Linked DNA regions of Homo sapiens: region 2 is linked to region 1. The links are contacts of gene promoters, found by promoter capture Hi-C in human tissues and cell types (Jung and others, 2019). All regions are on one chromosome and are shown on one strand. The core of a region is centred on a gene start or on the middle of the fragment in contact, and the rest is flanking DNA. Distances in the headings are between cores, read along the strand shown.

Region 1 (7,378 bases), core at 3,119-5,618:
AGGCAAAACATAATTTTTCCATCGCTCACCTTCCTGGTTGCCTGTAGCACTAACTGTCTGTAACAAATGCACTTTGGCCCAGGGGTTTATTGTGACACAGAATGTCAGGAGGAATGAAAGACACCTCCTGATCCAAAATGCTGTGAACCAAAAAGTATCTGAGACAGGTCTCAATCAATTTAGAAAGTTTATTTTGCCAAGGTTACAGATGGGCGCCCAGGAGGCAGATCTGTGCCTTCTGCAAAGATGATTTTGAGGGCTTCAATATTTAAAAGGCGGCTGGTGGGGAAAGAGGAAGAAAGTTTTTTTAAGGTGTGGGTAGGTAAGAAACAAACGGTTGCATTCTTTTGAGTCACTGATCATCCTCTCACTGAATGCACAATTTACATGGCAGAGGAGGGTAGAGAAATAAGTCACTTATGCCTTGTCTAGCACAGCGAATCTTCATTTTTACATTGGAGGAAGCAATCAGATATGCATTTGTCTCAGGTGAGCAGAGGGATGACTTTGAGTTCTGTCCTTTTTTCTGTACCTGTGAAGATATGCTATCAATTTACATTGTCATGGTGAAATTCAACAGAACTGTTTTAGGGCAAATATCATAGGGTCCACCAGAAATTTCCTCATGGGCAAATTGTGAAAGAAGTGCATAGCTGCTTTTTTTTTTTTTTTTTTTTTTGAGACGGAGTCTGGCTGTGTCCCCCAGGCTGGAGGGCAGTGGCGCGATCTCGGCTCACTGCAAGCTCTGCCTCCCGGGTTCACGCCATTCTCCTGCCTCAGCCTCCTGAGTAGCTGGGACTACAGGCGCCCGCCGCCACGCCCGGCTAATTTTTTTGTATTTTTAGTAGAGACGAGGTTTCACCGTGTTAGCCAGGATGGTCTTGATCTCCTGACCTCATGATCCTCCCGCGTCGGCCTCCTAAAGTGCTTGGATCACAGGTGTGAGTCACAGCGCCCAACAAGAAGTGCATAGCTTTTTTTGTTTTTTCTTTTTGAGACGGAGTCTCACTCTGTCGCCAGGCTAGAGTGCTGTGGCGCGATCTCGGCTCACTGCAACCTCCAACTCCCTGGTTCAAGGGATTCTCCTGCCTCTGCCTCCCGAGTAGCTGGGATTATAGGTATGCGCCACCATGCCTGGCTAATTTTTGTATTTTTAGTAGAGATGCGGTTTCACTATGTTGGCCAGGATGGTCTCGATCTCCTCACCTCGTGATCCGCCCACCTTGGCCTCCCAAAGTGCTGGGATTACAGGCGTGAGCCACTGCGCCCGGCCGAGAAGTGCATAGCTTTTTAAAAAATCTTTGTAGCTATCTTATTTAGGAATGGGAGGCAGGTTTGCCTGTGGCAGTTCCCAGCTTGATTTTTTCCTTTGGCTTATTGATTTTGGGGTCCTAAGATTTATTTTCCTTTCACAATACTCTTGTACAGGTGAGGAGACTGAGGCCCAGAGAGGAGGCTGCCTGCCTAACATAGACCAAAGGGTCAGAACCAAGAGTAGAACTCAGACCCCCTCACTTCAGGCCCAATGCTCTCATCACATAAAAAGGATGCCTTGATTATACGAATGTGGCACTGAACTATATAGGCTGACCCCAATTCTTTCTTCAGTGTAAACAATAATAGGAATAGGAGCAACAGGCAGCGTTTCTGCAGCGCTTCTGTGGCAGGCAGGTTCTAAGGCCTCCCTGTGGATTTCCTCTGTCAACACTCACGTTTACCCTAATAAGTAATTTCTATTATAAACTTAAATATTTACTGAACTCCTCCCACCAGTACTTGTTAACTTGGGAGAAGGGGGAGATGCAATAAAATCTTTCTTTTCCTAAGACCTGTCTCCCAAGATAGATGGACGCAGGCCCAAAAGGGCACAATGGAACACTGACTGTTTTCCGGCCTCCTTCCCACCCTCCAGGGTGCTTCACACTCCTCCCCTGTGCTGGAATCATCCTGGACACTGGTTAGGATGTGTAAAGTCAAGCATCACCAAAATTCCTCTGCTTGTCCTCTTGGCATTAGGCTCAGTTTAGGCCCTGCCTCTCCTTCCTTGTCCTCCTTCCTCCCCATGTACCACTATCGGTTGTTTCCCCAGTGCAGCCAGCTGCCCGCTTCTGTGTCTTTGCATATCCAGTTCCCTCTTGGAATTCCCTCCTCCGCATTGACTACTGACTCCACCTTCCCAAGTCAAGTCAGCTGCTGCAATGTCCCCTGCTCTGGGGAGCCTCTCGGACTCAGATTGACGTGGGGATGTGCCCTGTGCCCCTACTTGTTACTAGCTTCTGCTGCTCTGCCTCTGATCTCTCCCTCCCCTTCCCGGCCTGACACCTCATGGGGTTTTGCCCTGCCTTCTCTAGGCTTTATCCCATTGCCCCGCCTTCATTCATTCTTCTCTCACCTGAACTACTCCACAGCCTCCTAGCAGATTTGCACCTGGTCCTCAGCTCAACTTTCATCTACCACTGCTCCCCTCATATTACCTGATTGCGTCTCCCCAAATACAACATCTCCATGTTCCATGCAATCCCGTAAAGCACTGAGCCAAGGACTGGAGATGCCAACAATGGTCCTGGTCCTCAAGGGGCTTCCTACCTGCCCCTCCGGCCTTCCCCCACCCAACTACCTAAAACACAGGCAGAGAACCTCTGAAAACACAGCAGATCCAACCATTCCCCTGCTTGAACCTTTCGGTGGCCCCTAATGCTCAGAGTGCAAAGTCCAGGAGCACAAGGCTCTTTCTCACCTTCCCACAAACTACCCCGTGACTCCAGGCTCCAGCCCAGAGCCCGGACAGCCCCTGCCCCAGCCTTTGCCCAGGATTCTCCCTTGGCGGCAACTTTCCCTGTGGTTCTGCAGCATCATCTCCCAGTCTGGGTCAGAGGCCTCTCCTTAGCCTCTTAGCCCCCAAGCCTCTCCCCGTAACTGCACCTATCACCCTCAAACCATTGTCTGGCTGCCTGTCTCCTCCCACACTGGTCCCTGAGCAGAAACAAGGACTAATCCATGTTTTTCAGCTCCTACCCCTAATGAAATACCCTAATAGATACTGAAAAATGTTTTTGAACCAATGAGACAAGTCTACTGATAATAAACAGGCAAATAACAGCAATGTGCTAACAGTGGCTGTTTCTGGTGAGCAGAATTTTGAGGTCTGTTCCTTTCACTTCTTGGTATTTCGGTTGTTTCTGTAATGACTGTATCTTGCTTTTGTAATCATAAAGGACAGTAAAGGAAACTTCATTTTGAAAATAATACAAAGGGATTCGGGGACTTCAAAAGAAGGTGACTCTCCTCGTCCACTCCAGAGAATCAGGAAAGGAGTGTTTAAAGACCCACAGAATTCCTACAAGTGACGTTGGGGGGGGGCCAGCCAGCCAGGGCGCATGCCGGCCAGCGAGTGGGGTGGGCTCTGGGTCCGGGAGAAGTCAGATCAGTGCTCTGTACAGGGCCTTGAGGGCAAGACGAGGAATTTCGACTTAGGTCCTTGAATCTGGAGAGCTACAGAAAGTTTGTGAGCTCAGGAGAAGCGCTCCGAGCTCGGCATCTGGAGCAGTTCAAGGCAGCAGCGAGCAAGTCCAAAGACGCAGGAGGGAGGGTGGGGTGGAGGAGTAGAGAGAAAACAGAAGCCGTCTACAGACCCTTTTTCCCTCTGGGGCAACTAAACCTCAAGTGCAGGAAGCGCTTGGGGACTGCCCAGCCCTCAGCTGTGTTATTATTCGGTGATAGGTATTTGCTAATTACTTCCAAAAGCCTCCCATCTGTCATCCCACCCAGACTGCGCGCTTCTAATTCCTCCTACCCCACATGCTGTGCCCAATGAAAAGTATGGTCAGCGAGCGAAGGTTTGCAAGGAGACAGACGAGGGCGAAATTAAGCCAGGCGGCTTCCCTTTAAATCCTCGCAAAGCAGAAGGGCCCCTCACTCTGGCAGCAGGCCTTGGCCAAGGGGCCTTTAGCCCTGACGACCCGGGGAAGAGTCTCCCAAAGCAGAACGCCCGGTCCGGCGCCCAGACCAAACGCGGGGGAACCGGAAGGGCGAGGCCTCCACGTAAGTCCGCGGTAAAAGTGGCAGGGAGTGGCTGCCTGCAAAGACCCCAAGACGGCTTGAAGAAGGAGTGGGTGGCGGGTGGGGGTTAGGGCGACTAGGCGGGGAAACAGGGAGAGGGTCGGGCTCCGCGGGGCAGCTGGGGCCGGGGCTCGCCGACCTGGGCGGGGGCGGGGGGCGGGGGGGGTGCGGCCCGGGCGGGGCCGGTGGGGCGGGAGGCGTGGCCGGCGGGGGGAGTGGGGGCGGCTTTTCCCGGCACATGCGCACCGCAGCGGGTCGCGCGCCCTAAGGAGTGGCACTTTTTAAAAGTGCAGCCGGAGACCAGCCTACAGCCGCCTGCATCTGTATCCAGCGCCAGGTCCCGCCAGTCCCAGCTGCGCGCGCCCCCCAGTCCCGCACCCGTTCGGCCCAGGCTAAGTTAGCCCTCACCATGCCGGTCAAAGGAGGCACCAAGTGCATCAAATACCTGCTGTTCGGATTTAACTTCATCTTCTGGGTGAGTGAGCGCGACTGCCGCGCGCTCCTCTCAGGGCCCACCTGTTCGCGGGCCCCGGACACTGGCCGCGGCCGCGAGTGCCGGCAGCTGGCACTGCCCGCACCGGGCAGGCACCGGGCGGGAAGAGAGAGCGCCCTGCGGCTGCCAGCTGGCTCCAAGGCCGGGTCCAGAGCCGGGCGGGACGGCCGCGACGGGCGCATTCGGGTGGGGGCTCATCACCGCCCAGCCGGCGTGGGGAGCCGGGCCCTCTTGAGATGAGGCGTGCGGGAGGGTCCTGAGCACTTTAGCTCGCCTAGGATTTGAGCTGGGGTGTGTGTCTGCTCCCAGCTCAAGTCCCTCCGAGTGCCAGAGAGGAAGGCAGGGAGAAGCGGAGCACCCCTCTTTGGGCCAAGGCCAAGGAGGACTGTGGTGAGCAGTATGGCTTGTGACCGGGTGGGGTCTCCCAGGTAGTAGGGGGCGCCAGGAAGGGAGGGTGCGGGCACGGCGAGAGCTCAGCCAAGAGCGGCTCTCACTTTTACGCAGGAGCGGCAGGGGTGCCTCGGCCGCGGGTCCGGCCCCGGGACCCAGTCCCTGAGAGTCGGGGGCCCCTCCACCCTTGAGGAGGAACCTCGCAGGCCCCCGTTCCCTCAGACTTTGATTCTGAGCCACCGTGAGAGCGCCGAACTCCCTGGTAGCTCCCTGAAAGACTAGCTTGTCTTGATTTCTTTCAAGGACGATAAGTATCTTCACTGGAGAGAACTCAGAGTTCGGGAGAGGAGGGGGCAGATACCTATCTGCGCCTCTAGTGGGATGAGTCCTGTGTGTGCATTTCCGGGAGAGATCAGGTGCCAGCCAGCTGCCCGCCCAGGAGAGCCTTGGCCTTGCCCTCTCCCCTCCCCGCCAGCCCAGGCGGCCCACCCAAGGCCAGGCAGGGCGCAGAGCGGACGTTCATCTGGAGAGGCCAGCGGGGCCAGGAGCTCCAGAGACACCTGCTGCAGGCCACTCAGCCTCTACAAATGGGAAGGCTGAGAGGCGACAGAAGCAAGGAATAGGAAACCCTTGTGTCCTTGTTTCTATAGCCACATTCCCTGCACACACATGACAATACTTGCCGCTCTGCAGGCAGGAAGAGAGTCTCTATGCCACTCTCAAGATAGATGGATGTAGAAACAGGTGCATGCCACCAGAGTCTTGTAACAAAAAAGTGCACTTGGCCAGGCACAGTGGCTCATGCCTGTAATCCCAGCACTTTGGGAGGCTGAGGCAGGAGGATCGCTTTCATCCAGGTTCAAGACCAGCCTGGGTAACATAGTGAGACCCCCATCTCCACAAAAAAATAAAAAATTAGCTGGGCGTGTTGGCATGCACCTGTGATCGCAGCTACTCAGGAGGCTGAGATGAGAGGATGGCATGAGCCTGGGAGGTCAAGGCTGCGGTGAGTCATGATTGCACCACTGCACTTAGCCTGGGTGACCTAGTGAGCCCTGTCTCAAAAAAAGTAGAAAAGAAACAAATGCACTTATTCCCCCTGGAGCTGGTCACTGAGGTCCCCACAAGCCTCCTTAGGGAAATCTTCTAAGATTCACTCCTCCCCAGAGCTGAAGGGGTGGTTGAACAGTTTTTCCAATTTGCAGAGACTGACTTCCCCCAGTGCATCAGTCACCATAACACACACCCCAGTGAGGACGGCATATAGGTGTGCTCCTTCCCAACCCTTGACTTGCTTTAAAAAGACCCTGCTGGCCGTGGGCACCCCTCCTCCTGTGTTGCCACCCACCCCAGCAACCACCCAGCTGCCACGCTTAGCTTCTTTCTTTCACCAATCCCTGGCAGCAGAAAAGTATGCGGGAAGGCAGCTGGCCTCACCCACCCTTGAACTTTGGGAGTTTTCCTCTCCCCTCCCAGGTACAGTCTCTCCCGGCTGGTGTGTTGGTTAGTCCTCAGCTGTCTGCCTAGACTGCATCCAGGTTTGGGACTGCAGGGAAACACAGACTGCCACAGTGTGCCTCCCTACCCCCATCTGCCCCATGGCATATGCAGGAAGCTGATGCGAGGCTCACAGGGCCACTGGTATCTACTCTGTCTGTGGCCTGCTGGCCTGCAATCTGTCCGTACTGTCCTCAGCCTGCCACCCCACTCGTATTCAGAACCCCCTATGCCTGGCCCCAGCCTAGGTGCAGCTGATGACCTATGTAGTCTGAAACAGAAATCACTCACACTGGAAATGTTTGGAATGACTTTTGAAGATCATGCAGTCCAGCTCTCTTATTCATAGTGAGGCAGCAGAGGAAGAGAGATGGGGTGATTTACCCAGGATCGCAGAGACAGAGCCAGTATTACAATTCCTGGGGCCCCTACTTTACTTCTGTCCTCTTCCATCTTCATCAGAGGCAGGAAGATGGGCAGTAGCTATGTTTTCCTGAATTACTGTTCATTTGTCCTGTATCTGGGTCCCTGTGGAGATGAAGCCCTCATCCCTAGGAGATGATGTAATGAAAAGGAAGACTGTGGTCGGTCCACTTGTGCAGAGTGTTAGTCTTTAGAGCCTTTCTTGTTCTAGTCCCATGATGTAGCCAAGAGCAGGAAGCATTGTCCCCACTGTACTGATGATCAGGAAACCATTTCCCAGAGAGGTTAGGTGACTTATCCAAGGTGATGCGGCAGGGTGGTCTCAGAACTAGGTTACTTTACCCAACTGGTTTTGGCTGCTGAGTGGGAATGGGAGAAGGGTGGGAAGAAGCTCCCAAGACTCCCTTAAGGAAAGGTGTAACCTAAGGGAACTGCTTGGGTGATTATGTTGTCACCACGTCCGTTTCTCTCTTGAGACCAGACATTTATAAACTTGGCATTCGGAACCTGATGTGG
Region 2 (7,378 bases), core at 3,433-5,932, 130 kb after region 1:
TACACGTCTAATTCCAGCACTTTGGGAGGCCAAGGGGGGTGGATCACAAGGTCAGGAGTTTGAGACCAGCCTGGCCAAGATGGTGAAACCCCATCTCTACTAAAAATACAAAAATTAGCCGGGCACGTTGGCGGGCGCCTGTAATCCCAGCTACTAAGGAGGCTGAGGCAGGAGAATCGCTTGAACCCAGGAGGTGGAGGTTGCAGTGAGCCAAGATTGTGGCACTGCACTCTAGTCTGGGTGACAGAGCAAGACTCAGTCTCAAAAAATAATAATAATAATAAAATAAAATAAGGTAATATATGTAACGCACTTAGCAGGGTGCCTGGCAAACAGCAAGTGCTCAATAAATGAGAGCTCTTAATAACGAAAGTGTCCTGTCCCAGGCCGCCCTACAGAAGCTGAAGGCAGAGGAGTATGTTCAACAGAAGAGGGAGCTCCTGACCCTCTATCGGGACCAGGACAGGGAGTCCCCCAGCACCAGGCCCTCCACGCCTTCCCTGGAGGGCTCTCAGAGCAGCGCAGAGGGGAGGTAAGGCTCACACGGACTACAAGGTCTCCCCGAGCAGGAGGAGGGAGCCATAAGGCTGAGAAATGGCATTACTGCACATTTTTGGTGGAATTGGGAATAGATAGAGGAACGCAGGCGTAGGGCAGGGTAGGGAAGCTCGGTACCAGCTGTGTTGGGTCGGAAGGTTGGTACCAGCCGTGTTGGGTTGGAGGTGGGGGATAGGGCACAGACAGCCTACAGAGTTAGCCTGCCTAGAGTCACACAGGAGCACTGTGAGAGGAGCAAGCTCGAGAGTGAAGGTAGGTGTGGATCTGCAGAATATTAGAGCTGCCAAATCCCCGGGGAGTGTGAGGTTCGTCTAGGATAGCACCACTGCTTGGCAGCAGCTTAAGGAGAAAAGAAGAATCGATCATTGAGGATAATATCAGGTAAGTTCAGGAACCACTCAGCAAAAACCTGACTACCCACTCGATACAAGATCCTGGACCAGATGCTATGGATAAAACAGTATAGAGGCAGCCCGTACTCTCTTAGGAGCTTAAAATCTAGCCAGCCAGATGAGAAAAACAATCACAGTGCGATGGAAAGATGATACCAAAATAAGTTTGGAGGAGGGGCCATTTCTGGATGTAGTGATCAAGGGAAACTCCCTGGACTTGAACTTGACCCCTACGCATCTGACTCTTTGCCATTAACTGTAGGACTCCTGAGTTCTCGACCATTATCCCCCACCTGGTGGTGACAGAAGACACAGATGAAGATGCTCCCCTTGTGCCAGATGATACCTCAGACTCTGGCTACGGCACTTTGATCCCAGGCACCCCCACGGGGTCCCGCTCCCCACTGAGCCGTCTACGCCAAAGAGCCCTTCGGCGGGACCCTCGCCTCACCTTCTCCACCCTGGAACTCCGGGACATCCCTCTGCGTCCCCACCCTCCCGACCCCCAAGCTCCTCAACGCCGAAGCGCCCCCGAACTGCCGGAAGGAATCCTAAAAGGAGGCAGTCTTCCCCAGGAAGACCCACCAACCTGGTCTGAGGAAGAAGATGGGGCCTCCGAGCGAGGGAATGTGGTGGTGGAAACACTCCACAGGGCCCGGCTTCGGGGCCAGCTTCCCTCCTCCCCAACCCATGCTGACTCTGCCGGGGAAAGCCCCTGGGAGTCCTCAGGGGAGGAGGAAGAAGAGGGGCCTCTGTTCCTGAAAGCTGGCCACACATCCCTGCGCCCAATGCGGGCTGAGGACATGCTCAGAGAGATCCGGGAGGAGCTGGCCAGCCAAAGGATTGAGGGGGCCGAGGAGCCCCGGGACAGCAGGCCACGGAAGCTGACTCGGGCCCAGCTGCAGAGGATGCGGGGGCCCCACATCATTCAGCTGGACACCCCTCTGTCCGCATCGTAAGTGCTGGAGGGAAGCTGGCCTGGGAGGGGGCAGACGGGGATGTCTGTATGGTGGTGGGGTGTAGTATAGAAAGAGGGCAAAGCAGGAACAGGGGCTGAGGCAGGAAGGGCTCTCCGCCTCACTCTTCACCTGACCCTCACCCGTTGCCACTGAATGTCGCCTAACACCCCCTCCTGTCTTTTCAGAGAGGTATGAGGAATGCAGAGGACCTTTGGCATGCATCTCTCCCAGAGGAGATCTCTCCCCAGTAGTGCTGGTCACCCTCCGGCATCTGTGACTCTACCTCAAGGACCACATTTCCCAAAGGAAGCCTGGCCCAGGCACCCTGCCTCCTGCTCTGTTTGGGGATCAAGAACTGTAAATTTATGTATCATAGGTGCACCTGAGCCCCACAGAAAGTTGTGCATAAAAATGACTGCCCTGGCTGGGCATGGCTGCCTGTAATCCCAGCACTTTGGGAGGCTGAGGTGGGAGGATCCCTTGAGCCCAGGAGTTCCAGACCAGCCTGGGCAATATAGGGAAACCCTGTCTTTACAAAAAAAAATTTTAAAAATTACCCAGGTGTGGTGGTGTGCCTGTGTCCGGAGGCTGAGGCGGGAGGACCCCATGAGCCCAAGGGTTGGAGGCTGCAGTGAGCGCACTCCAGCTTGGGCAACAGATGACGGTGTTCAGAACAAGAACCTGCTACTCCTCTGTCACTTGGCGTGATGGTGATGGGCTACCTGGCCCTAGTGCAGGGCTTTTCCCATCTCACCCCTCAGGATCTGGGCCTCTGCCCCCACCTCCCATCCCGACAGACCACTGTCTCCAAGAGCAGAGCTTTAACTTCAGAATTTTAGTGTATGTACAAAAGTCCACAGCTCCAGCTGAAGGCCCCATTGTTCCGTGCTCGCCCCTGCCTTAGGACAGTTCAGCTTGCTATGTGCTTGTCCAGGCAGAGGGCACAGGAGTGCCAAGTTTCTATTAGTGTAACATGATTGATTTAAAAACAAAACAAAACAAAACAAAAACAAAAAAAACTGCTTATGCACTGTGAAAAAGGCTCAGGGACGAACCAGGGGCCCCCGAGCAGCCTTGCTGGTGAGGACACCCAAAACGGGCATGAGGCATAGCGTCCCTCATCCTCGCAAACCACCCACTCAGGCTCTTGAGCCCACGGCGCACCTCTCTCCGCGCGCACAGCGCTGACTGTCGGCGGCGCGCAGGCAGCTGAGAAAAGCTATGTACATCGAGGGGTTAGCACCAAGTAGGCGGCTGCTAGCTCCTGCTTGCCCCTGCAGGACCCCTCCTTTCCAGAAAAAAGTGGGGTTGGAAGGCGATCTCGCAGGACGGTCCTTAGAGCTGCCCGCAGGGGCGCAGCCTCATCTGAGAAGACTGGGCGCGGGCGGGAGGGCGGCGGGGCCGCAAAGCGCCTCCTCGATGTCCTCCAGGCAGCCCAGCAGGTCCATGTCGCGGAGCACGCGTCCCAGCAGCTCCAGCGTGGCCTCGCGCCGCGGCGTGCGCCGCCTCCAGGTCGCCAGCATGCTGTATTGCGCCTCGCGCAGGCAGCGCCCGTTCTGCAGCTCCAGCCGATCGATCTCGTGGTCGCTCAGCCCTAGGCGCCGCACGAATTCCTTCCAGCGCAACGGGGGCACGTTCTCCACCACGGCGTACAGCGTCGCGGGGTCATCAGCTGCGGGGACGCGGGCCGGTGAGCCTCGGGCGGCAACCCCAGGCCCCGCCCCGCATCCCGCGCCCTCCGCCTCTCGTGGTCCCCTCTGGGAGCGCCTCCCGCGCTCCCCCGGCCCTCCCCCAGCCTCCTCGTCTCCAGCCGCGGGAGAAACTCACTGTCTAGGCTCTGTGGCTTGTGGGCGCTGTCCTCCCACTTCTGAAGGGGGTTGGGGATGGGGTCGGAGGCGAGGGCTGTCGCAAGGATGGGGTCAGCCCCCTGATAGGGTGGTGCCACCTCTCTGCGGGGAGCCGCAAAGTTGGGACAGTCACCGGGGGTATAGGTGGAGCTGGAGGTGAAGGTGGAACTGGGCACGGGACTGAAGCCCAGGGTGGGGGTGAAGCCTGGAGTGGGACTGAAGCTTGGGTTTGGGGCCAGGGGCTTAGTAGTAGTTCCTTCAAGCTCCCCCTGAAAGAGAGAAGGTGGCGCAGCATTAGTGCGGCAGCGAAAACCAGCCCCGGCCCTCTTTATTCTACGTGGGGGTTGGGACTTAGAGGGAATGAGGCGAGCCCCCGGAAAGTGAAGGATGATTCCAGGGGATCTGAGCATTAGGCAATTATAAGGAATGGTCAGGGACATTTGGGAGTAACTCTCTCATTTCATCTCACCTCTTTTTCAGGTGTCGATTTCCCACAAACTGAGGAAAAAGAAAGAAAGCATCATAAATTTCACTTCCTCTCTCAGCCCTGGCACCCTGGACTCAGCTGGCAGTGGGGACTTGTGGTGACATGCCTCAGGGCCTATGTGGCCCCAGGGACGAGAGAGCTACTGATGCAGCTCGACATCTCCCCAGCCATCCAGGGCCACCTTCTGCCCAGAGTCCCCAGCGGTATGAACTGAGGGGACACTCCTCACCTCCCTCCACACATGTCCATCGCACCCACCCATGTCCTCCCTCACCCCCACCAGCTCCCTCTCCCTCCCAAAGCCCCCACTCACCAATGGAGTAGAGCTTGGACTTCCACCGTTGGTAGCGATACATTAAACCAATGAAGAGGAGGGATAAAAGGCAAAGACCAAAGAAAATGACCAGGGGCAACAGCACTGTGGTGCCTGCAGACAAAGCAGGTGTTGGTCAGAGGAGCGGGCAGAGGGGGGCCGCAGGGATAGATGGATGGGTGGGATGGATGGACGGGTGGGGGCAAGAAGAGGGAGAGGGCAGGTGAGCATGGGCACCAGGTCACTTCTCCTCACCTGAGTCCTCAGTGCCCTTAACATTCTCAATCTGGGGTAGGCACAACTTCGTGCACTCCAGGCTTTTCTTACAGCTAAAAGAAGAGACGGCACTGGTGAACAGAGGCCCTACCATTGGAGGAACACAGAAAAACAACCACACAGATTGTTGGACATCCTTTCTTTACAAATATTTTTGCTGTCTCTTGATATAATTTGTTTTGGGAACTGATGCAGAAGAATGAAACACAGTTAATCATAGAATCATTTAATTTTAGAATTGGCAGGGATCTTGAAAAGGCTGTGTAGAAAATGTGAAAAGCAGTCAGGGTCAGGGTGTAAATTCCAGTTCATTCCTTGGCTAGCAGTGTGAATCTAGGCAAGCCATTAACCCCCAAGCCTCGGTTTCCTCATCACCACAGGGATCGCCCACCTCTCAGGATTGAGGATTAAGCAAAATCATTATGCCTCATTTAATAAGTGCTTGAGAAGGTAGCCAGCTAGCTGTTATGGGATTGTTGTTTCATCACTGTTTTGCTGATAAGAATCCTTTGGCAAAGAGAGGTTAAAGGGCTTTTTCTTAAATGACACTGCTAGTTACAGTACCTGACTTCGGGGAGTCGGGGTCAAACATGCATGTGAAAAATTTAAAAACACATGTTACTGGGGCAGCCAGAGAGCACCCTGTAGAACTAGCAGATCTTCCATGTTGGGAGTTGTCACTGGACAGTGTGGAGTGATGGGAACTCTATGGGGTGGTGCTGGAAGGAACTTGAGAGAGTGAGTTCCCAGCAGGAAGCTGAAAGCAGGGAGAGGCACTTTAGCCCACCACTCAAGCTCATGGTGAGAACCACATAGAATGGTATAAAAGTGATTTCAAGAAGAGATGAAGCCGGCTGGGTGCAGTGGCTCACGGCTGTAATCCCAGCACTTTGGGAGGCAGAGGCAGGTGGATCACCAGGAGTTTGAGACCAGCCTGACCAAGATGGTGAAACCCCATCTCTACTAAAAATACAAAAATTAGCCAGGCATGGTGGCACGTGCCTGTAATCCCAGCTACTTGGGAGGCTGAAGCAGGAGAATTGCTTGAATCTGGGAGGCAGAGGTTGCAGTGAGCCGAGATCGCGCCACTGCATTCCAGCCTGGGCGACAGAGCAGGACTCTGTGTCAAAAAAAAAAAAAAAAAAAAAAAAGAAGATTAATGGAAAATAAATAGTTTTGTGTCAGACGTGTTGTAGGTTTTGTTTGTTTCTTTGTTTTTGGTTCTCACAAATTCACCAAATGAATGTCATTATGCTTACTTTAAATATAAGAAATCTAAGGCCCAGGCCAGGCGTGGTGGCTCATGCCCGTAATCCTAGCACTTTGGGAGGCTGAGGCGGAAGATCGCTTGAGCCCAGGAGTCCGAGGCCAGCCTGGGCAATATAGTAGGACCCTGTCTCTACAAAAAGTAAAACATTAGCTGGGTGTAGTGGTGTGTGCCTCTAATCCCAGCTACTCAGGAGGCTAAGGCAAGAGGATGGCTTGAGCCCTGGAGGTGGAGGCTGAGCCACGGTTGCACCACTGCACTCCAGCCTGGGTGACAGAGTGAAACCCTGTCTCAAAAAAAAAAAAAAAAAAAAAACACCAAAAGAAAAGTCAGGCTCAGAGATGTTAAGAAACTTGCCCAACGTCACATAGCCAGTAAGTGGCTATGCTGGGGTTCAAACTCTGAGAGCCCTCAGAGTTTATTCTTTGCAAGTGAGTGACAAGAACAGCCTCTGTGGAGCCAGGAGTAAGGAGGCCTGGACAGTGACTAATGAGGAAATACCATATTGCATCAAACCTAAGACGCCATCAAGAATAAAAGGCACTTTTCTTTACATTACTACCCAGACGCAAACAGAGCTGCCAATTCAACCATGATGAGTCACCAGTTATAGGAGGTTTGATTTCAGAGCTATAAGAGTGTATGTCCTAGAACCAATGAGCTATCGTAGATCCAAGAATCTACATATCTGAGTTGGAAGGGCTGCCAGCCCTTGGGGCATGATCTTCCATCCTCAAAGACTTCTTCAGATTTGAAGAGCAAGGGGAAGGACTGCCTGGTGTCTTAACGAAGTGTCTCCTACTCAGCCAGTAGGACCCTGAGCACTCTGGGGCATCCTGGCATCTGTTGCCCAGCTAATGGTTCCCACCAGTCACCCGTCCCAACCCATGCCACCATCCAGTGCCCAGCAGCTCTCAGAGATACTCACTTACTACAGGAGACACACTCGTTTTCTCTTAGAAAGAAACCTGCATGGCAGGTGCACACGGTGTTCTGTTTCTCCTGGCCTGTAGGGAGAAGTGCGGCACAGCTAAAGGAGAAGCGCCTGCACCCCCACCCCACAGGACAGAGGAAGTGACGAGGGACAGGGTGGGGGCGGCCAGAGAGGAGTTGGTTGTCAGACCCACAGAATACAGGAGGGGGAAGGAAAGGAAGTGCCACCGCATGGGGAAGGGGCCAACCCCTGGGGTGGGGAGAGGGCTTGGCCTCAGGAGAGCTGCGCTCACAGGAGAGGTGCACGGTCCCATTGAGGCAGAGGCTGCAATTGAAGCACTGGAAA

The links. Contacts are between HindIII fragments. The study calls those that stand out against the background at their distance.
Region 2: a fragment that was not itself captured here is called in contact with the fragment with the promoter of CD9 in region 1 in 5 of the 25 tissues and cell types used here (IMR-90 fibroblasts, heart right atrium, liver and 2 more).

Annotation. Positions count from the first base shown.
Region 1 is chr12:6,196,032-6,203,409 of GRCh38, forward strand. It overlaps CD9 (CD9 molecule), which reads left to right and starts at 4,369. Exons shown (of 8, transcript NM_001769.4): 1 at 4,369-4,534. The coding sequence starts at 4,469. RefSeq lists enhancers at 3,241-3,853, 3,854-4,465, 5,692-6,304, 6,305-6,916. The HindIII fragment of the contact is 17,720 bases long and covers 1-7,378 here.
Region 2 is chr12:6,326,042-6,333,419 of GRCh38, forward strand. It overlaps TNFRSF1A (TNF receptor superfamily member 1A), which reads right to left. Exons shown (of 10, transcript NM_001065.4): 4 at 7,326-7,378; 5 at 7,028-7,106; 6 at 4,812-4,885; 7 at 4,557-4,670; 8 at 4,226-4,254; 9 at 3,737-4,025; 10 at 2,730-3,581. The coding sequence ends at 3,271. PLEKHG6 (pleckstrin homology and RhoGEF domain containing G6) reads left to right here. Exons shown (of 16, transcript NM_001384598.1): 14 at 387-532; 15 at 1,213-1,905; 16 at 2,095-2,465. The coding sequence ends at 2,104. Among named protein-coding and RNA genes, the nearest start is that of TNFRSF1A, 12 kb to the right of the region's middle. RefSeq lists an enhancer at 4,197-4,326. The HindIII fragment of the contact is 7,903 bases long and covers 732-7,378 here.